Linked DNA regions of Homo sapiens: region 2 is linked to region 1. Evidence: promoter capture Hi-C in human tissues and cell types (Jung and others, 2019). All regions are on one chromosome and are shown on one strand. The core of a region is centred on a gene start or on the middle of the fragment in contact, and the rest is flanking DNA. Distances in the headings are between cores, read along the strand shown. Region 1 holds the start of MRPS12 (mitochondrial ribosomal protein S12). Region 2 has its middle 9.8 kb from the start of CAPN12.

Evidence for each region. The method cuts DNA at HindIII sites, captures the fragments that hold promoters and counts their contacts. A contact is called where the count stands out against the background at its distance.
Region 2: a contact is called between a fragment that was not itself captured here and the fragment with the promoter of MRPS12 in region 1, in 6 of the 25 tissues and cell types used here (H1 embryonic stem cells, dorsolateral prefrontal cortex, heart right ventricle and 3 more).

What each region holds. Positions count from the first base shown.
Region 1 is chr19:38,928,154-38,932,805 of GRCh38, reverse strand. MRPS12 (mitochondrial ribosomal protein S12) reads right to left here and starts at 1,862. Exons shown (of 3, transcript NM_033362.4): 1 at 1,808-1,862; 2 at 1,463-1,530; 3 at 1-473. The coding sequence starts at 1,511. The coding sequence ends at 106. SARS2 (seryl-tRNA synthetase 2, mitochondrial) reads left to right here and starts at 2,043. Exons shown (of 16, transcript NM_017827.4): 1 at 2,043-2,336. The coding sequence starts at 2,070. RefSeq lists an enhancer at 1,959-2,418. The HindIII fragment of the contact is 13,053 bases long and covers 1-4,652 here.
Region 2 is chr19:38,751,907-38,756,558 of GRCh38, reverse strand. No RefSeq gene overlaps it. Among named protein-coding and RNA genes, the nearest start is that of CAPN12, 9.8 kb to the right of the region's middle. The HindIII fragment of the contact is 9,984 bases long and covers 1-4,652 here.

The DNA of each region.
Region 1 (4,652 bases), core at 613-3,112:
GGCTGCCTCTAGAGGCGCAAAGGCCAGCATCGGAGGACCCTGTGGCAGCCAGGAGCGGAAGGTTCATGTTCTGCAGGGGCGCCCAGCCCACTGTGCCCCCAGCCGTCACTTCTTCTGCACGTGGCCACAGTCGTACTTGCCACGCACAACGGTGAGCTTGACGCCTGGCAGGTCCTGGGTGCGGCCGCCCTCCACAAGGACAATCTGGTGCTCCTGCAGGGTGTGGCCCTCCCCAGGGATGAAGCAGACGGCCTCGCGGCCAGTGCTGAGCCGCACTCGACAGCACTTGCGATTGGCTGAGTTGGGCTTCTTCGGCTTGCGGGTAAACGTGCACAGGACCACACCCTTCAGCTGCGGCCGGCCTTCCGTGGGGCCCAGCTTCCGAGGCGGCCGCTTGGGGGGCCCCAGGCGGTGCATCTGGTTCAGGGTAGCCATGGAGCAGGTAGCCCAGAGCCGGGGAACCAGAGCTGGGCCTGGAGAGGGCCGAAAGGGGTTATTATCCCAGAGAACAGATCTTAGAGTAGTAGCAACTCAATTTTGGTGTTTTAGGCATTGTTTAAAGCACTTTACAAAGATGCATTTGTTCACATCTAATGTTATCTACAGACAAAAGTAACTCTTTATTCTTCAAGGAAGCATTACCTTTTTTTTTTTTTTCTTTTTTTTTTTTGAGACAAAGTCTCACTCTGTCGCCCAGGCTGGAGTGCAGTACCTCAATCTTGGCCCACTGCAACCTCTGCCTCCTGGGTTCAAGCAATTCTCCTGTCTCAGCCTCCTGAGCAGCTGGGACTACAGGCACCCACCACCACGCTCGGCTAATCTTCGTATTTTTAAGTAGAGACGGGGTTTCACCATGTTGGTCAGGCTGGTCTCGAACTCCTGACCTCGGCCTCTCAAAGTGCTGGGATTACAGGCGTGAGCCACCACGGCTGGCCAGGAAGCATTATTTTTAATGCTGTTTAAAATAATAGTAGGCTCAGTGGCTCATGCATGTAATCCTAGCACTTTTGGAGGCTGTGGAGGGTCACTTGAGCTCAGGAGTTAAGGCCAGACTGGGCGACACAGGGAGACCTCCCTCTCTACAAAGAATCAAAAAGTTAGCTGGTTGTGGTTCTGCAGGCCTGTGGTCCCAGCTACTTGGGAGGCTGAGGCGGGAGGATCACTTGAGCCCAGGAGGTCGAGACTGCAGTGAGCTGTGATCACACCGCTGCACTTCAGCCTGGGCGACAGAGGGAGATCTTAAATAAATAAATAATAAAACTGACCCAAACGCCGCTTGACACGCAGTAGCCCTCCATGCAGCTGCTTCCCACCTCTTGCTCTAGCAGCCCTAGCTCTGCCAAAACCCCACCGTGTTTTTCCACCCCCGTTTCCCTCGGGGCTCCGACGGAGGCACACAAGTCCAAGAGCGAATAACCCTCCCCCTCTAGCCTCGTCCCTGAAGCCCAAGTCCCCCACTTACCACAAGTTAGGGACGTGTTGAGGCCATGGAGAAGGCCAGACCAGGACATCCTGCCACCTGGGCCGTCCCTGTGGTAGGGGATAAGAGACTCAGAAAGGAGGAAAAAGTGACCGATCCGCAAATGCTCCCCGATCCGCTCTCAGGACTTTCTGGCTTAAATCAAAGGAAATACCTCTATAGGTCTAACCACAGGCCCTCATGCTGCTAACAGAAAGTCCCTCCGTAAATTTAGCCTCGCTCTGAGTGGGTTCCCGAGGGCCCAACCACTCTCGCCCGCACGCAGGAAGAACTGGGAAACTGGGGAGATGGCCTGGTAGATTTGGAGGACCCCAGGATTCCACCGACCTCACAGGACCTAAAGGTGAGGTCGCGGACACGCTGAATCCAGCTTCTAGCCTCTTCCGGGCGCTATCCGTGCAGGGATTGGCTGGTTCTGCCTCGCGTCACTGAAGAGGCGGGACACAGACGACGATTGGGCGACGAAGGACTCTATCGCGGTCAACTTTCCTCAGGATCTGATTGGCTCGTCACGGTCAGGTTCGCTGCCTTGCAATTGGTCTAAACGCGGAGTGGGCGGGACGAAGTGCCGCCTTGTTCCCGGTCCAAGATGGCTGCGTCCATGGCGCGGCGCTTGTGGCCTTTGCTGACTCGTCGGGGGTTCCGGCCCCGGGGAGGCTGCATCTCCAACGATAGTCCAAGGAGAAGTTTCACTACAGAGAAACGAAACCGGAACCTCCTGTACGAGTATGCGCGCGAGGGCTACAGCGCACTCCCTCAGCTGGACATAGAGCGGTTCTGCGCATGCCCAGAAGAGGCCGCACACGCCCTGGAGCTCCGCAAGGGGGAGCTGCGCTCGGCGGACCTGCCCGCGATCGTGAGTGCGCCTGCGCCGGCCGGGGGGCGCAGACGTTTGCTTTACGGAAGAATTGGGTTTGCAAGATGCCCTCCGGCAGGGGGCGAACCTGTAGTAGGAATTTTAGTTATTTCCCAAGTTAGCCAACGTCTTGTGCATGGCACCCACTTATGTGCCAGTTGTCCAGTGAGTGCTGAGGCCCTACTATGTGCCAAGAATGCCTACTGTGTCCTGGACACCCATTATGCGCTTGTTTCATACTGCTCGCTGGGTACCTCCTGTCCTTTAGGAACTTGCTATGTGACATTGCCCTCCGTGCTGCAACCTCATGCCAGCCTTTCCCTAAGACCACAAAGGAAAATGGGGAGCCAAGTGTGAATCGGACGGGGTCAGGGCTGGGGTGTGGTGGAGCTCTTGCGTTTAGAGAGAGAGGTAGGGAGAGTTGTGCACCTCCGCCACACATAGCAGGCAGTTAAATAGAGTTAATGAATGAATGAATGAATCCATTAATGAATGGTTCTATTAAACTGATACTTAAGGTGCAACTGCTATATTCCGGTGTTCTAGATGTTGCAAATATGCGGTGAATAATAATAAAATTGCTAGCACTTATAAAAGGGAATTAGGACCGGGTTCACAATATCTCTGTGTTGAGGTGCTAACGATAGTGGGGTCCCCACGTCTTCCCATTCCTCTCTTGGACTCCCCTCCCAGCCTGTTTGAAGTGCTTTATTCACTTTAACCTCGTTTAATTTTCACAGCAACTCTATGAAGTAGGTGCCATTATTTCTCCCATTTTATCAGAGGGGAAACTAAGGCTTCGAGAAGCTAATTCACTTGCGCTAGGTCATGCAACTGGGAAGTGGCAGAGTGGGAATTTTAACCTGTGCTTTCTGGCCTAGAATCCACTTTTTTTTTTTTTTTTTTTGAGATAGGGTGTTGTTCTGTCGCCCAGGATGGCAGGATGGAGTACAGTGGTACAATTATAGCTCACTGGAACCTTGAATTCCTGAGCTCAAATAATCCTCCCACTCAGCCTCCCGTGTAGCTGGGACTACAGGCAGACACCACCACGCCCGGCTAAACTTTTGTATTTTTTGTTGAGACAGGGACATACTATGTTGCCCAGGCTGGTCTTGAACTCCTGCGCCCAAGTGATCCTCCCACCCTGGCCTCCCAAAATGCTGAGATTACAGGCATGAGCCACCACACCCAGACTCCACAATCTTAAGTACCCTGCTGTGCCCTCTCATGATCTGAGTTCACAGTCTAGTAAAAGACATTTTTTTTTTGAGATGGAGTTTTGCTCTTGTCTCCCAGGCTGGAGTGCGCTGCGACTTCTGCCTCCCAGGTTGAAGTGATTCTCCCACCTCAGCCTCCCGAGTAGCTGGGATTACAGGCACATGCCACCACATCTGCATAATTTTTGTATTTTTAGTAGAGACGGGGTTTCACCATGTTGGCCAGGCTGGTCTCGAACTCTTGACCTCAAGTGATCCACCCACCTTGGCCTCCCAAAGTGCTAGGAGTACAGATGTGAGCCACCATGCCCCACTAAAAGACATTTAACATATACAACTATACATATATACTAATTACAATTTCTGGTAAATTTGACTACCTAGAGTAATCAAATTCATAGAGACAGATATACTCATTATAATCTGTGGTAAATGCTGTGAAGGCAAAGTGGAGGACAGCCTGGGAGGACTTCTCAGAGGAGGTGGCATTAAACAAAGATCTGTGGATTGAGAAATCACCAGGGAAGAGGGAAGAAGAGTATCCCAAGTAGGGGACCAGAATATACAAAAGCCTGGAGGTAGGATGGAAAATTCCATTTGATGGCCATGTAGATAATTTAGAGCGTCACATCCTTTAGCAGGCTTTTTCAAACTTTGTGGCCAAGAGTAAGAAATACATTTCACATCCTGACCCAGTACACACACCCAAAATTGAAACCGGTTTCATTAACAATTATTGCTCTTACCACGTGTGATGCATTCTTGTTCTTTAATTATATTCTCTTTCATTTGTAAAGTGCTAGTTGTTGTTTTTTTTTTTTGCGGGGGGGGGGGCCAGGGGTGTGTTTTTGTTGTTTGTTCGTTTGTTTTTTAAGACTGAGTCTTCCTCTGTCGCCCAGGCCTGAGTGCAGTCGCACAATCTCCGGTCACTGCAACCTCCGCCTCCTTGATTCAAGTGATCGTCGTGCCTCAGTCTCCCAAGTAGCTAGGGTTATAGTTGTGCACCACCACACCCAACTAATTTTTGTATTTTTAGTAGAGATGGATTTTGCCATGTTGGCCAGGCTGGTCTCGAACTCCTAACTTCAAATGATCC
Region 2 (4,652 bases), core at 1,444-3,943, 180 kb after region 1:
TGCAGCTCCGACCTCCCAGGCTCCAGCAATACACCCACCTCAGCCTCCTGAACAGCTGGGACTGGACTATAGGTTTGCACCACCATGCCTGGCTAATTTTTGTATTTTGGGTAGAGATGGGGTTTCACCATGTTGCCCAGGCTGGTCTTGAATTCCTGAGCTCAAGCAATCCACCCACCTTGGCCTCAAAGTGCTGGGATTACAGGTTTGAGCCACCATACCCGGCCTTATATGGTTTTTTTCTTTTTTTTTTTTTTTTTTTGAGATGGAGTCTTGCTCTGTCGCCCAGCCTGGAGTGCAGTGGTGCAATCTCAGCTCACTGCAAGCTCCGCCTCCCAGGTTCACGCCATTCTCCTGCCTCAGCCTTCCGAGTAGCTGGGACTACAGGCACCCGCCACCACACCCGGCTAATTTTTTTTGTATTTTTAGTAGAGACGGGGTTTCACCACATTAGCCAGGATGGTCTCGATCTCTTGACCTCATGATCTGCCTGCCTCGGCCTCCCAAAGTGCTGGGATTATAGGCGTGGGCCACCGTGCCCAGCCTGACCTTATGTTTTAAAATAAATTAAAAGAAGAAAAGAAAAATACATTTCTGGGGCTCTTCATTTCTTCCTGTGGATTTGAGTTTCTGTCTACTGTCATTTTCAGTGTGAGGGGTTTCCTTGAGTATTCCCTGCGTTTAGGTATATGCTAGTCAGGAATTCTCTTTTTGTTTATCTGGGAATGATTTTCTTTTGCCTTTTGTTTTGAAGTATAGTTTTGTTGAATATAGAATTATCAGTTGACAGTTTTATTTTTCTTTCAGTGTTTTGAATAAATCATTCATCTGCCTTCTGGCCTCCATTGTTCCTAGGAGAATCTAGCCATTAATTCTATTGTTCCCCTGTACATAATGAGCTGTTTTTCACTTGCTCCTTTAAAATTTTCCATTTTCCTGGCACGGTGGCTCACGCCTGTAATCCCAGCACTTTGGGAGGCCAAGGAGGGTGGATCACGAGGTCAGGAGATCGAGAACATCCTGGCTAACACGGTGAAACCCCGTCTCTACTAAAAATACAGAAAATTAGCCAGGCGTGGTGGTGGGTGCCTGTAGTCCCAGCTACTCGGGAGGCTGAGGCAGGAGAATGGTGTGAACCCGGGAGATGGAGCTTATAGTGAGCCGAGATTGTGCCACTGCACTCCAGCCTGGGCGACAGAGTGAGACTCTGCCTCAAAAAAAAAAAAAAATGCCCTTTTTGAATTGTTTTCAGCAGTTTTACTTTCACTCGCGTCCGTGTGAAGAGACCACCAAACAGGCTTTGTGTAAGCAATAAAACTGTTTATTTCACCTGGGTGCAGGCGGGCTGAGTCTGAAAAGAGTCAGCGAAGGGAGATAAGGGCGGGGCTGTTTTTATAGGATTTGGGTAGATAAAGGAAAATTATAGTCAAAGGGGGGTTCTCTGGAGGGCAGAGTGGGGGTCACAAGATGCTCAGTAGGGGAGCTTTTGAACCAGGATGAGCCAGGAGAAGGAATTTGACAAGACAATGTCATCAGTTAAGGCAAGAACAGGCCATTTTCACTTCTTTTGTGGTGGAATGTCATCAGTTAAGGCAGGAACCGGCCATCTAGATGTGTACGTGCAGGTCACAGGGGATATGATGGCTTAGCTTGGGCTCAGAGGCCTGACATTCCTGTCTTCTTATATTAAGAAAAATAAAATGAAATAGTAGTAAAGTGTTGGGACAGTGAAAATTTTTGGGGGTGGTATGGAGAGATAATGGGTGATGTTTCTTAGGGCTGCTTCCAGCGGTATTAGGGGCGGCGTGGGAACTTAGAGTGGGAGAGATTAAGCTGAAGGAAGATTTTGTGGTAAAGGGTGATATTGTGGGGTTGTTAGAAGAAACATTTGTCGTGTAGAATGATTGGTGATGGCCTGGATACGGTTTTGTATGAATTGAAAAACTAAACGGAATAAGAGAAGGAGAAAAACAGGTATTAAAGGACTAAGAATTGGGAGGACCTAGGACATCTAATTAGAGAGTGCCTAAGGAGGTTCAGCATAGCCTTGCCAGCAAAGATTATTTATTTACTTCAAGAGTTAAGAGTGGCAGTTTGGGGATAGCACGAGGAGATATCAGCTGTGATGGCTTGGAGAAACTGTGTAAACTGGCAGTGTAAACAAGAGCAGGGCATGCATGAGTAGTTGAGAACGGTGAATAGGAGTATGACTAGACAGAAGATAGTAGGGATGACAAGTTATTTGGGGGCACAGTCTAAGTTGGTCTGGTGTCTGGAATGAGACTGGGGCCTAATAAAAAGGAGTGTCTATACAGGAACTTAAATGGGCTGTATCTTGTAGCATTCTGAGGACAGGCCTGAATTCTGAGAAGCGAAAGTGGTAAAAATATTGTCCAGTCCTTTTTAAGTTGGTGGCTGAGGTTGGTGAGGTGTGTTTTAGTCTGTCACTGAATACTAAGAGCCTGAAAAAATGCTTGGCTGATTTGACAAATAAAGGCTGGTCTGTTATCAGACTGTATAGAGGTGGGAAGGCTAAATTGAGGAATTACGTCTGACAGAAGGGAATGATAAGGCTAAACTGAAGAATTATGTCTGACAGAAGGGAAGAAATGACTGTGGTGGCCTTCTCAGACCCTGTAGGAAAGGACTCTACTTATCCAGTGAAAGTGTCTACCTAGACTAAGAGGTGTTTTAGTTATCTTACTCGGGGCATGTTGAGTAAAGCTAATTTGCCAGTCCTGGGTGGGGGCAAATCCTCGAGTTGATGTGTAGGGAAGGGAGGGGGCTTGAATAATCCATGAGGAGTAGTAGAATAGCAGATGGAACACTGAGAATTTATTTCTTTGAAGATAGATTTCCACAATGGAAAGGAAGTGAGAGGTTCTAAGAGGCAGGCTAGTGGCTTGTACTATAGCATAGCCTGCCTTTGCTGGTGTGTGGCGATTAGGCCTGGTGGAACTGCCATCAATAAATCAAGCGTGATCAGGGTGAGGAACAGGGAAGAAGGAAATGTGGGGAAATGGGATGAATGTCAGGTGGATCAGAGAGATGCCGTCATGGGGGTCAGGTGTGGTATCTGGAATAATGTGGGAGGCCGGATTGAAGTCCGGGCCAGGAACAATGGTCATTGTGGGACTTAACAAAGAGTGAGTACAGCTGAAGGAGCCAGGGAGCAGAAAGTATATGCGTCAGGTGTGAGGAAGAAAATAGATTTTGGAAATTATGAGAGCTGTAGAGAGTGAGTTGAGCATAGTTTGTGATTTTGAGGGCCTCTAAAAGTGTTAAAGCAGCGGCACGCGCTGCACGGAGACATGAGGGCTAGGCTAAAACAGTAAGGTCAAGTTGTTTGGGCAGAAAGGCTACAGGGTGCGGGCCTGGCTCTTGTGTAATAATTCTGACCGAACTAACCATGCCTAGGAAGGAAAGGAGTTGTTGTTTTGTAAGGGATCGAGGTTTGGGAGATTAATCGGACACAAGCAGCAGGGAGAGCACGTGTGTTTTTATGAGAATTATGCCAAGATAGGTAACAGATGAGGATGAAATTTGGGCTTGACTGAAGTAATGGGGTCTGTCTGTGAAGCCTTGAGGCAGTACAGCCCAGGTAATTTGCTGAGCCTGATTGGTGTCAGGGTCAGTCCAAGTGAAAGCAAAGAGAGGCTGGGATGACAGGTGCAAAGGAATAGGAAAGAAAGCATGTTTGAGGTCCAGAACAGAATAATGGATTGTGGAGGGAGGTACTGAGGATAGGAGAGTATATGGGTTTGGCACCACAGGGTGGATAGGCAAAACAATTTGGTTGATAAGGCGCAGATCCTGAATTAACCTGTAAGTCTTGTCTGGTTTTAGGACAGGTAAAATGGGGGAATTGTAAGGAGAGTTTATAGGCTTTAAAAGGCCATGCTGTAACAGGCGAGTGATAACAGGCTTTAATCCTTTCAAAGCATGCTGTGGGATGGGATATTGGCATTGAGCGGGGTAAGGGTGATTAGATTTTAATGAGATGGTAAGGGGTGCATGATTGGTCGCCAAGGAGGGAGTAGAGGTATCTTATACCTTTGGGTTAAGGTGGGGGGATACAAGAGGAGGATGCAAAGGAGGCTTTGGATTGGGAAGAAGGGCGGCAATGAGATGCAGCTGTAATCCAGGAATAGTCAGGGAAGCAGATAATTTGAAGTGTCTCGGCCTAATTAGGGAACTGGGCAGGTGGAGATAACTAAAAGGAGTGCATAAAAGAATATTGTCTAAGTTGGCACCAGAGTTGGGGAGTTTTAAGAGGTTTAGAAGCCTGGCTGTCAATACCCACTACAGTTATGGAGGCAAGGGAAACAGGCCTTTGAAAAGAAGGTAATGTGGAGTGGGTAGCCTCCGTATTGATTAAGAAGGGGACGGACTTACCTTCCACTGTGAGAGTTACTTAAAGCTTGGTGTCCGTGATGGTCTACGGGGCTTCCGAGGCAATCGGGCAGCATCAGTCTTCAGCTGCTAAGCCGAGAAGATCTGGGAAGGAGTCAGTCAGAGAGCCTTGGGCCAGAGTTCCAGGGGCTCTGGGAGTGGCTGCCAGGTGAGTTGGACAGTCCGATTTCCAGTGGGGTCCTGCACAGATGGGACACGGCTTAGGAGGAATCCTGGGCTGCGGGCATTCCTTGGCCTGG